2 separate regions of the Homo sapiens genome follow, and region 2 is linked to region 1. The links are contacts of gene promoters, found by promoter capture Hi-C in blood cells and fetal thymus (Javierre and others, 2016). All regions are on one chromosome and are shown on one strand. The core of a region is centred on a gene start or on the middle of the fragment in contact, and the rest is flanking DNA. Distances in the headings are between cores, read along the strand shown. Region 1 holds the start of CTB-3M24.3 (a long non-coding RNA gene). Region 2 has its middle 48 kb from the start of FSTL4.

Evidence for each region. Contacts are between HindIII fragments. The CHiCAGO score rates a contact against its expected background, and 5 or more counts as called.
Region 2: a contact is called between a fragment that was not itself captured here and the fragment with the promoter of CTB-3M24.3 in region 1, in 1 of 17 cell types (endothelial precursors). The highest score is 8.9, in endothelial precursors.

What each region holds. Positions count from the first base shown.
Region 1 is chr5:133,386,010-133,392,009 of GRCh38, reverse strand. CTB-3M24.3 (a long non-coding RNA gene) reads right to left here and starts at 4,128. Exons shown (of 3, transcript XR_948794.4): 1 at 4,040-4,128; 2 at 3,431-3,537. The region is part of intron 4 of FSTL4 (follistatin like 4); the gene reads left to right. The HindIII fragment of the contact is 3,410 bases long and covers 2,307-5,716 here.
Region 2 is chr5:133,657,355-133,663,513 of GRCh38, reverse strand. It overlaps a transcript of FSTL4 not described here. Among named protein-coding and RNA genes, the nearest start is that of FSTL4, 48 kb to the right of the region's middle. The HindIII fragment of the contact is 296 bases long and covers 4,509-4,804 here.

The DNA.
Region 1 (6,000 bases), core at 2,879-5,378:
GTACTATGCATCAGATACTATTTGGAGATGTGGGGACACAGCAGGGAACAAAACAGAGCCCAGTCCCCATGGCAGGTACAGTCTTGTGGGAGAAACAAACAGTAAACAAGAGATGAAGTCTATGTGATGGTGACAAGTGCCATGGAGCAGAATAAAGCCAGGAGGGCAGTTAGCCAGAGCCTCTGATATGAGAAGTGACATTTGGGCAAAGGTCTGCAGCAGGCCGGGGGGTTAGGGAGTGAGGCATTTGAATATCTGGGGGAAGAGTATCCCAGGCAGTGGCAATACAAAGTTTGCAAAGATCCTAAGGTAGGAGCTTGCCTAGCGTGTTTGGGGGCTCACAAGGGGGCCAGAGTTGCTGGACCAGGGTAAGTAAGCAGAGAGAAACTGAGCAAGTCGGAGGGCTGATGGGGTTGATCTCCCCATAGGGCTCTGTCGGCCATTGGAAGCCCAAGTTCTTTGCCACTTGGCTATATTGCCCTTCTCATTACTCCGTGAGGCCCACCCAAAAGTGGCCTTGATGAGGGGAGGGAGTGACATGGAGCCTCCTCCCCAGGCTTCTCCGCAGGAGGCTGTTTGAGGAAGGCCCTGTGTGGACAGGAGGGGTGCCGGTGGCTCAGGTGCTCAGATCCATGTGAGTGGACCCTATGCCCAACACTCGAGAGGTTTCAGATGATCACCAGGAGCCAGATGTTTAATTACTGGAGCAAGAAGAAGTTGATTTGGGACTCCTTTAAGGTTCTCCCCTATCGTGCCTTCAATTAAGATCAAGGCCCCCGTGTAGCAGCCGCTAAATGACACCATGTATTGAATCTCTGTGCTCAAGCAGTTTGTCTAATTATCTGTGTGATAGACTCAGCAGCTGTCAGACCAGCCACAACTCAAATACGTGGTCTCTGTACGCCTGCCTCAAAGTGTTTTATGCCCACTAGCAAGCTCAAGGACAGGACTTTCATGCTCTTTTCTAGATATGGGATCCCTTTCAGGTTCCTCTGCTGCCTAGTGATATAAGGCATTGAAGGGGCCAGTGGCTGGGAGGACAGTGGGTACAAGAATTGAGCAGAGGCCTGGGGGCTCGGCTGTTCCCTCCCTCGCCCCAGCCCTTGTGCCTCGCATGATCACTCAGCCTCTCTGCCTGCTTTTCTGGACAGGGAAGCAGTGACCCAGTTTGGGCCATCTTCTCCAAAGAGAGGGAGGAGCACTTGCCACTGTGTCAAGTTAACTGAAATAAATGAGGGGGATCAGGAGGCAGTGACCCAGGGGAGAGTAAATGACTGCTCATCTCCATCAGCAGAGAGTGTCTTCAGGAGTAAACACTTCCCAGCAGAGCAGGCTCATTGGATGAAGGAGGAACAAGACCACACCAAACAACTGAATGTAAGGTCTGTGGAGTTGAGTCCTCAGCCAGGAGAACTGAGGGACAGAACTACAGAAAGCTGGGGCCCAGCCCTGTACAGCATCCTGGGTCTCCGGGAACCACCCATGCTTCCTGATTGTAGGTGAGCTTGTGCCCAGTCCTGCACCTGGGTGCCTCATGAGGGCCAGATCCAGAACACATGTATTCTCCAGGCTAATGAGGGAAGACAGAGCTTAACAGTGACTACTGAGTTTGGACATCTCCTAGAGAGTTCTTCCCTCTGCTTTTCTTCTTGTTGTGCTCATTTCTGCTTTGATGCATTTTGATCACTTGTTAATGAAAGTAATCAGAGTGAAAACTACTTTCAAAAAGCTCCTCTAAAGGAAAGTAGCAAAATCACTTTGCTTGCAGGTAATTAAAATAGCCAGATGCAGTGAACTCCGTCCACTTATTATAAGCAGGGTGATCTCAGTTGTGCACTTCTCTTTGTAGCTGGAAAAAAGGGCTCATCCAGGGACTTAGCAGCCATGTCTCTTTTCTTGTCTTCCTTAGGGAACTTGTGCTTTCTCTTCCACTGCTTGTGTTCAGTGCACTCCATGCCCCCTTCAGTTGGCTAAGGTATGCCCAAAGGCCTGGTCTACAGTGGTCCAGCAAATGCCTCTTTGAGCCTTTGCCTCCCTCACTCATTCGGCCTGGCTAGCTCTCTGACTTTTCCTCCAATACACCTGTACATCTCTGTCTCTTTCTGCCTTCCTCCACCCCATCTTTGTCTCTGTTTCTCAGATGCTCATCCAGTGATCCATATTTCCATCAAAATATAATAAACCCAAGGTATTTTTATAGGGATTTTCAGAGATCTTTACTTATATCCAGTCAGGTGGAGCTTGTACAGACCCAGGTCTGCATGAGTCCTCATAGCTGAGACTTTAGTCTTTTCCCCGTGCAAGCTTGTCCAATGATTTGGGGAACCCGAGATTAGAGACATCAGAGGATATGAAGGGCAGAACCTTTCTGGATAGGTGGGTGATGGACAGGAAAGCAGGGGCGAGGAAGATGTCTCTTATAAAGCTACAAAAGAAGAAATACCCTAGACAAAGGAGGAGGTTTCAGAAGGGGACACCAGGGTAGGGGCAGGGGTGTCAGAAAGGGTCAGTGACACATCATCCTAATTCCGCAGAGAGTGAGCTTGCTTGTTCTCCTTCCCACCCACCTGCAGAACTCCAGATTTTCAAGGGCGTCTCTCAACTGTTTAGCCATGAATGCTGGTTACAGGGAAGTTAAGACCCCTCTCCAGATGCAATATGTCGTGGCAGTGACCATGGATTTAGCTGTAATTCCAGTCTGGTCAATCTCACTGGGCTGCAGTGAGAGTAAACAGAGGTGAAGCCTGAACAGACCTGTCTGAACACGAATGAAAGGGAAGCTGGCTTCTGCAACAGAGGAGGAGGAGAGCACACACTTAAGATGCAGCAAAAGAGCATGCTTTGGGGAAAAATTATTACAAGAAACAGAAGCTCATTTTAGACAGCAACTGTGTTCTACTCCCAATGCAAGAAAACATGAACTCTGAAATGAGATAAAAAATGGGATTGTAAATTGGCTGAGCCACAGTCAAAAATAAAATGGAAGCTGGGGGAGGTAAGGAAAGAATATAAAGAACCTGAAATACAATTGCAGAAGTTCCTTCTCCACTTCAAGCAGTCAAAGGAAAGATTAACCATACAGAAATCATAGTTGTTCCAATACAGGGAACAAACTTGAAAACCGCTCCCCAAATACACCGAGAATGAGAAGAAGATTTAAAAAATACTGTGGGAGAGGATGATAGTTATGTAAGACAGAGATAAAAGATTTAAAATAATAGTGATTGGTTATCTTAAAGACCTCAGAGCAATTCAAATGGACACAATAAGCAAAGAGAGATCCAAAAAAATAAGTGCCCTATACTGAAAGATCTATCAAATAAGTCAAAATATAATTGCTGACATTTTAGGTTTTGAAAAAAAAAATTAAAGTGATCTGAAATATCCAGAGAGAGAAAAACAAAGCAGACAAAAAAAAAAAAAGTCCTACCTGGTGTTGCACTGGGGGCTCTTGAGTGGTTTCAGCTGACCGGCTTGCCCAGGGGCAGCTTCTCCCCTTCAGTTACATTTGTGTCAAAGGTGAGTCTCAGACACTGTCTGGTAGGAAGGAAAAAAAACATTCTGTTCTTGGACTTTTCTGCGATATTAAGAAGCAAGAAGGCAATGAAGAACATTGGTAGAATTTTGGGGTGGTAAGACCATGATGCAAGAATTCTACACTTATCAAATGGTGATCCATGTATGGAAAGAATAAAAAGTATTTTCTGCTGGGCAAGGGTTCAAATAATACACCATCCGTGTACTCTTGGCTGGGAAAAAAAGTGAAAGATGAACCCTTCACATTCTACAGAGAAATCAGAGAATCTGACAAAGAGGAACTCAAGGCTTAGGTGAGCACAGAGGCTCTTGAAATGAGAAGGTGTCTAAATAACTTTTTCAAATATAGTTACCAAAAATTGCAAAGGGTAAATGATGAGGTTAAGTGCGCTTAATTTTCTTGACTGACTTATTGGAATTTCAACAGATCCTGCATAATCCTTGACTCGGTATGTTAAAAAGCATACATGAGGGCAATATTCCATCAGAGCCCAGAACAAACCTCATGCAGCCCCAGACAAGTGTCCATGGCTGTTCCCAGGTGATCTGGGAGACTTCACCTCCTGCCTTCACTGGTGTATCCAGAGACCATGGGAAGGATCAGCCACTGACTGACGTGTTCGACCTACGGTCGGGCCTCCCCGTGCCTTCATCTCGGTGGCTAGAGTGTGCTCCCCAGAAAGCATGCAGGGCTACAACTGAAGTGGAAGAAAACCGCAGCGGGTCATAGTGTGTCTTCCTTGTGTGATGAAGCCTTTGTTCATGGGCGTGTGTCAGTATGCCAGTGACATGGTCAGGACAATTGGGAAGGCCTGAACTATTGGTTCTAATGTTGCAGTCAATACAATGTGATTAACCAATTAGAGAGAAATGCATAAGAGCCAAATTCTGTTGCCAAGAAAAGGCAAAGAAGGTAGAAGAGCTGCCCTGTTAAGAGATAGAGGTAGAAGTTCAACCCCCAAGGCAATAAAGGGCCACCATGGGACACAGCCTTGCAGAAAAGAAGGAATGGCCATCAGGGTGGGGTGGATAGGATCATGGGAAATACACATTCTCATTCACGGAGAATGTGCCAGGCTGCCAGCCCACCGCCAGGGGCTGTATGGACGTCATCTCATGCACTCCTTTTCCTAGTTGGTGTTTACTGAGAGGCAAAGAGAAGCCAGATAACTTTCCCAGTTACTGGACTTGTAAATGACGGCACCAGTACTGGCACCTGCCCATCCCCTTTCAGTGTGTGTCAGTGGCCACTCCCATGATTAGGAGAGATATTTGTCAGGGAGTGGGGCTTGACCTGAACCTGGAAGAGTGGGTGGGTGGGACATGAACAACCAGGTACAGGGCAGGGGCAGCAGCAGAGGGAAAGACTTCATGCAGCTTTGCTGATGTTATGGCTGCATTCCTTCCTCCTCCACCAGACTTGGCACTTGCAACTGATCAGACAGCAGGTACCTAAAAACTCTCACTCCCCTAAAGGGAAATGAGGAGAAGTTAGAGTTACCGCAGACATCAAATATTGTATATCCAGTTGTTTTAATGAAATGAATCACATTTACACCCATCTTGTCTTTGAACTTCAGTGGCTGTCTCCACGTGGCTATGTGACGTGACAACCCCAGTGAGCACATTACAAAGGAAGAAAGTCCCCGCCAATGCCACGTGAAACACAGGGTGAGGGCTTCGTTGCACAGGAAGAAAAACGTCCATATTTCTCGGTCACACCTTTCTGTCTCTCCACTTCTGCCTGGGTTCCTTCTCGCCAGTGTCCCCACCTCTGCCCCCTGCCAAATTTCAGTGACATGAAGATCTCGTTTATGTGCCAGGCTTGTCTCAATAAACATTCTCCTAGCAATTTTAAAGGAACAAACTTTCCATATTAAAAACTTTTGTGGTTCTCAGGGTAAACAACTGTGGGTATCAGGAAGACCTGAAGAAATGGGGAATCTATACAAAAGGAAGGCAAAGTCCACTGCTGAGAAATGTGGTTTCTCTCTGTAAAACATGCTGACAGAAGCCCATATACTAATTTAGAGAAACAGTTGGCACAAAACAAGATGCACAGTTGAGCGTGCCTGTCTAGAAGGCTGGGAAGGAAAGAACTTGAGTGAAGGCACCACCAGGATTCCTGTGGCTATAGCCCCACGGAGACTCTGCTGGCTGTGATTATAATCATCAAGCTTTGCAGCAAATGATTGTGATTTTACACATCCTACCCTTTTTAAAAAACCAGAGATTGGATGAGAATGGAGGGCAGGGTAACAACTAACTCAAAGAGCCCATGTGACATGCCAGGTCCAAGGCTGAGCATTCTGTGCACTTTCTGTTCTTTAATTCTGTGACAGCCCTTCAGGGTAAGGACTGTTATTACCCCTAACTTGGCAGGTGAGGAAACTGAGGCTCACAGAGGTTTAATGACTTGCCCAACACCACTCAACCGGTGAGGAGGAGAGCTGCAATAAAGAC
Region 2 (6,159 bases), core at 3,407-5,906, 270 kb before region 1:
TCAAACAAAAACACTCATCAGTTAACCAATGGCTGTTCTCTTGGTCCCATGAAAAGTTATTGGTGAAGAAAGGCTCATTGATATCTTTTTTAAAAATTTATTTTAAAATAACCAAAAGCTCACAAAAAATTGCAAGAACAGGATGTAGAGTTAGTTCCCTTCATGAAACCTCCCCCAGTGGCAGTATCTTACACAACTATAATACCTTGTCTAAACCAGTGTCTAAACTGTGCGTGGGACAGTACTTCAACTCAGTGAAAGACCTTATTTGGATTTCACCAGTTTTGATATGTATTCGTGTGTGTGTGTGTAGTTCTATGATACTTTACTACATGTGTAGATTCAAGTAACCATCACCGCAATTACAGACTGTTCAGTCACCAAAGAAATGGTCTCACATTACCCCTAATAATCAAATCTTTTCCCAACTCTAATCCCTGGCAACCACTGATCTGTTCTTTACTACTATAATTTTGTCACTTTGAGGATGCTAGAGTGTTGGAATTGTACAATATGTAAGCTTTTGAGACTGCCTTTTTTTTTAACTCAGGGTAATGCTCATGGGAATCTTTTGCATATGTGTACTCTTGATCTTAAATTATTGGATGGCGTTAAATTTTAGACTTGAGCAATGTGACAAAGCCTCTCCAAGGCACATGGTTAAATGAGTAAACCTTTGGCTTAGGATGGAAGAGTGACTCACAGCCCCACAGCCAGTACCTGAAGAGGTGGCAGCCTGAGCCACGTTGAGCCAGGTGACCCTACAGGAGCGTTCACAGTAAGCACAGCCCTGGGGAGCTCCCAGGGGCTCTGGAACTGTGAATGGGACACACCTGACTCTCTGCCGTCCTCTTCTAATGATTCTGTGATTTCAAACACTAAAGTTTTTCATGGCCTGAAGATTTCAGTGTTTCCAAAAGGCAGGAATAAAAATCAAGGGTAATTAAACTTGTCAAACCATAGATTTTTTTTAGGAAAACATTTTGGCAGGGACAACAGGCTGTCACGTTCCCTCCTCCCTCCACGGTGTATGCCTTCATAGGGGGTCTGTATGCTAGGGTTGTCTGATCTGGAGAAAAGCTGTACAAATTCCAATTGCATTCCAACTTTGGTAAACTCAGAAGTGATTAGCTACAGAGTGAAAATATCCACTGTAATTTGGCAAATATTAATGGCACTGCAGAGCATTTCAACTGTAAATGGAAAAGTAAAATATGTAAAAATTGAGGATTAGATAGAAAAGAAAGCTGCTCATGTTTTAGGAATGGAAATGATTATTTAGTGAGCTTATCTATTTATAGCATTGCCACTATATAGGGAGTTTGGATTTTTTTAAAGCCTTTTTAGAAATCTGGAAAGTTTAATGAAATATAAATTTTCTAAAACAATCCTCAAGAAGTAAAAATGTACTGGCTATAGTTCAGCTAGTTTATTGTAAAGTTTAAGCAAAGTAAAACTCAAACTTGATTCTATTTTTAAATATAATCAAGCATATATGTATGGTTGGATTCTGGTAATAAAATTGTTTTTTAATTGAATGCCTACTTTGTGCATATGCTTCTCTGATAGGAATCCAACAAATATCTGTTGAATACACGATGAGTGACTAAATAAATGAATAAGGACAAGTTAATAAAAATGTGACCAGATGCCTTAGATTCTTAAATTAAACCAATTAAGGACAACACAGAAGTTTGTAAAGAATCTGTTGTAATGCCCTCACTTAATTACAGAGTTATCTTTATAAACAAGAGCTTTGTTTATTGTTTAAACCAATTCTAAGAAATGATTATGAGATACTGTAGATTGGGTATTATACATCCATTGGAAACCACTTTTCATACTTTTCCATGCTTTGATTAACAACAGGCAGCCTCTATTCAAAATACCTTTCTAACTGGAGAAAATAGTGACATCATCTCCTTCATGATGATGTCATGCCACTATGAGGTTAGGCTGTAATATATTAAAACTAATACTAATGTTTAATGCTGACACTACATCTATTACTTACACTAATACAAATGCTGAGCAATTACCTTTTTGAGCTTTTATTAAGTACCAGCTCTGTGCTAAGTGTGTGCCAGGCATGGTGCTGTTTAATCCTCACCGCCACCGAGTGAAGCTCTTACTATATCTTTACAAACCAGGAGCCTGCAGTTCAGAGCACTTCGGTGGTTTTCCCAAGGTCATAGTGACAGTAAGCGGTAAAATCAAGTTTTAAGGCTGTGCACGGTGGCTCACGCCTGTAATCCCGGCACTTTGGGAGGCTGAGGCGGGCGGATCACCTGTGGTCAGGAGTTCGAGACCAGCCTGGCCAACATGGTGAAACCCCATCTCTACAAAAAGACAAAAATTAGCCAGGCATGATGGCGCGCATCTGTAATCCCAGCTACTTGGGAGGCTGAGGCAGGAGAATCGCTTGAACCCAGGAGGCAGAGGTTGCAATGAGCTGAGCTCGTGCCATTGCACTCCAGCCTGGGTGACAGAGCAAGACTCCATCTCAAAAAAACAAAAGTAAAAAAAAATAAAGTTTTGAACACAGTTGGCTGTCTCTAAAGCTAGAGCTCACGAGCTCCTCTCCTGTTTCCATACTGGTTAGTGTCTGTCTGTTCATTAAAACCAGCGTGGATGTCAGTCAAGGCAGGCCTCACTGGATTTACTCCTTGGAAACAATAATAATTGCTTTTTTTCCTTCAAAGATTTCTTAACAGACTCCTTCCTCAATCTATCAAAATTAGTGACTATGACTGTGTGTAAAAGAAAATTAAGACACTGAGCAAATAGGTAGGCAGGCTTTGTAGAAAAGTAGTAGGCCTCAGGAACAAAATGACATCAGTCTGCAGTCACCCAGTGGCACAGGCTGGGGAGAGGGACAGGGTGGGCACCTTATGAATCCTGGGCATTTGAACCGAGACAACTTCAGTTCTCTGTAGGCTGTAGACACGTAACTCCATGCTGAGCACAAGCACCATGGTCTTACTCACATCTGGGAATGTTCTGCCCATAGCCCCATAGGATGCAGGGGGCCTGTGGCCAGCAGGAGGGCAGCAGGTAAGGCCAGTCTTTGCTGCTGGCACCACAGGTGAAGAAGTTATGTCCTTCCAATCTCGGCTTAGCTGTCACTTTGTACAGGAGGATTTCCCTAATTCCCATGGACCGGGCTGGGTTTCCCTTGCTGGATGCTCCTAAGGTGCCCTATGCTTCCTCTACTCTGTTGTAATTGCTTTTTAAGCTGCTGATCTTGACTGTGAGCTCTAGGAGGGAAAGGAGAGGGTCTCCTTCTTCACTGCTTTGTCTCCAGGCCTGAAAGAGGGCCAAGAACACAGTGACTGCTTAGTAAATAAACATTAAATAATTTGGAATGTTTTCCCAACCAAAAGAAGAAAAGAAAATGATTTAGGGACATTACATGAAAGAAACCAATGAAGCCTAGTGTTTTTTCCTCACTGTTTGAATTTGAGCATATTGGGTAGACAAAACTCCTGGCTTCGTTCTCTAAGCCCCTAACTCTTTCTTTTTGTCAACTTATTTCTCTCTGTCTCTTTTTGTTCTGTTCTTTGCTGACCTCTTTCTCCCTCCTTTATTTCCTTCCCTTAATCCCTTTCTTCTCTCTATAACTTGGGCTTGTTTTTGTCTATTTCTCTGAATTATTTTTCTAGAGGAAAAATATTAATAGATATTGATAGCTTAAGAAATTGATAGGGGGGAAACAGTTCTTGATAGCTTAAGCACAACTCCTAGAAGAATAAAAATAAAATATTTAACTTTTAAGCTAGCAGAAGAAAATCCCATCTATTTAATAGAATATAAGAAAGGAAAGGGGAAGAAGAAGATGTGGAAAATAGAAAACATAAAAAAAGCAGAAATAAATGTTCATATATTTTATAATTAATATTAACATTAATATATTACAATGTATTTATAATAGGAATTACAATAATAGTAAATAATTTAAAGTCATTCATTAATCAAAGTATAATGACTCTCTAAGTGAATTTAAAAGACAAAAACCAAGCAATCAAGATAAAAACCAAACAATAGATTAGAAACAAAAGGATACAGAAAAGATAGGAAAAGATATACCAGAAATAGGCCAGAATAGAAATTTTAGTATCAGAAAGACAGTAATTTAAGGCATAAACTATTAGAAAGGGAAAATGAGGATGCTATATATTGGTAAAACAAGTAATATGTCAAGAAATAGAATGATAACGAATATGTACACCTCTGATAATGTGTCATCAACAGACATACAGCAACAACTGACAGAGCTGGGGTGGGAAATAAATTTAAAAAATAGCTGCAGGTTTTAATACACAGTCTCAAAAACTAATACTTGAAGCATACAAAAATAAGCAAGGATATGGAACATTAGAGTAATATAATTTATCTCTTCATATGTATCCCAATAAGCAAAATACTTTCTTTTCATATGCATATAGAACAAACACAAACAAATTATAATGTGGTAAGCCCAAAATAAGCTTTGCTTAGATTTAAAAGCTTTATAAGTTTAAAAGAATCAACATCATGCATGCAATGTTCTTGACCATGATGCTATTAAATTAAATGTTAAAACCCTATATGTCTGGAAATTTTAAAAATACTCCCAAATAGCATTGGGCTATACAATAAACCAAAGAGAAGTTGTTAAATACTTAGAGGTGAATGAAAATTCACCATTTGAAAGCAGCACATGCTAAATTATGTGAGTCATGTTCAAAGCAGCACTCAGGTAAATTTATGGCTTTAAATAAATTTACTAGAAATTAAGAAAGAATGCAAGTAAGACAGTTAAGCTTTATCCTTAAAAAATTCAAAGGGGAAACAGAGTAAACCCAAATAAACAAGAAAAACGTAAATAAGAAGATAGGCAGAAATTAATAAATGCAGAGAAAATAACAACAATGGGAAATGAACTGGAAGTGTTCTTCAGAAAGACTAGTAAAATAGATAAGCCTGTGGTGACACTAATAAAAGAGGAAATGCAAATTTTTAAAAATGTGAGATAAAAAGAGGAACTAGATAAAGTTCTGGAAAAGATCTTAGTATAACTATAACTCTTAAACTGAAATGAAATCATTCACATTTTTTCCAAAAAATTTCCAGCTCCATATAGTTTTACAGCTATGTTCAGCAACACATTCAAGGAATAGATGATCCCAATCTGAAAATGTTGCTACAAACCATCCGAAATCAAGAGCACACTGTTCACATAACTTTGTCAGGTTAGTATAAACCTGATCCTAAAAATGAATAAAAACAATACAGTGAAAGAATATTTTAGGTCAATTTCCTATGAACATAGATGTGAAAATCCTAAATATGGTATTAGCTAATCAAATGTAACAGTTTATCTTTTAAAACATGCAATCAAGTTAGAATTTAAGAAAGTGTAAGCATTAAAAAATCTATAACTGTGATTCAGTCTATTAATGGAATAAAAGAAAAATCTCATGATCATTTTAGGAGATGCAAATGAAATACCTGAGAAAGTTCAACACCTATTCATATTCATTATTTTAAAATATACTCAGAGGAAACCAGAATAAATGGAAAATTTCCAATCTTAACAAAGGCTATTTACTAAAATCTAATTTTTTAAAATGTTATTTCTTGTAGCATTATTTATGAAGGAGGACTTTAAGGGAGCCCAGGTGTCCCTAGGAGAAAATGTAGTCTATACATCTGTTTTAGAAAAAAACTACACAGAAATTGGTAAAAAAAAAAAAAAACAAAAAAAACAAAAAACAGTAAGCTAGATTTACATTTAGTAATGCAAATAGATCTTAAAATAGTGTTGAGTAAAAAAGGATAATGAAATGTATAACATTTTGAATTATATAAACATGTAAAACAACACTACATATTTTTCAAGGATACCCAGATATCTAGTAACATTAATACATACATTAGAGAAGGTGCCTATGGGCAGAAAAGAACAGATATGGAAACAGGGAACTAGGAGAAATAATAAAATAACAAAACTAGAGAAGAGCCCTTCATGAACCAATGGACATTGTGTGCACTGAAGTGAGCAATGTGATGTACTCAACTCTGTGCACCTGAGGACCAAAAGAAGAAAAGAAGTCCCTGTCCACCTCATATAACATGGTCACTTGGATGCTATGGTAACTACTATCTCTTGGGGCTAAC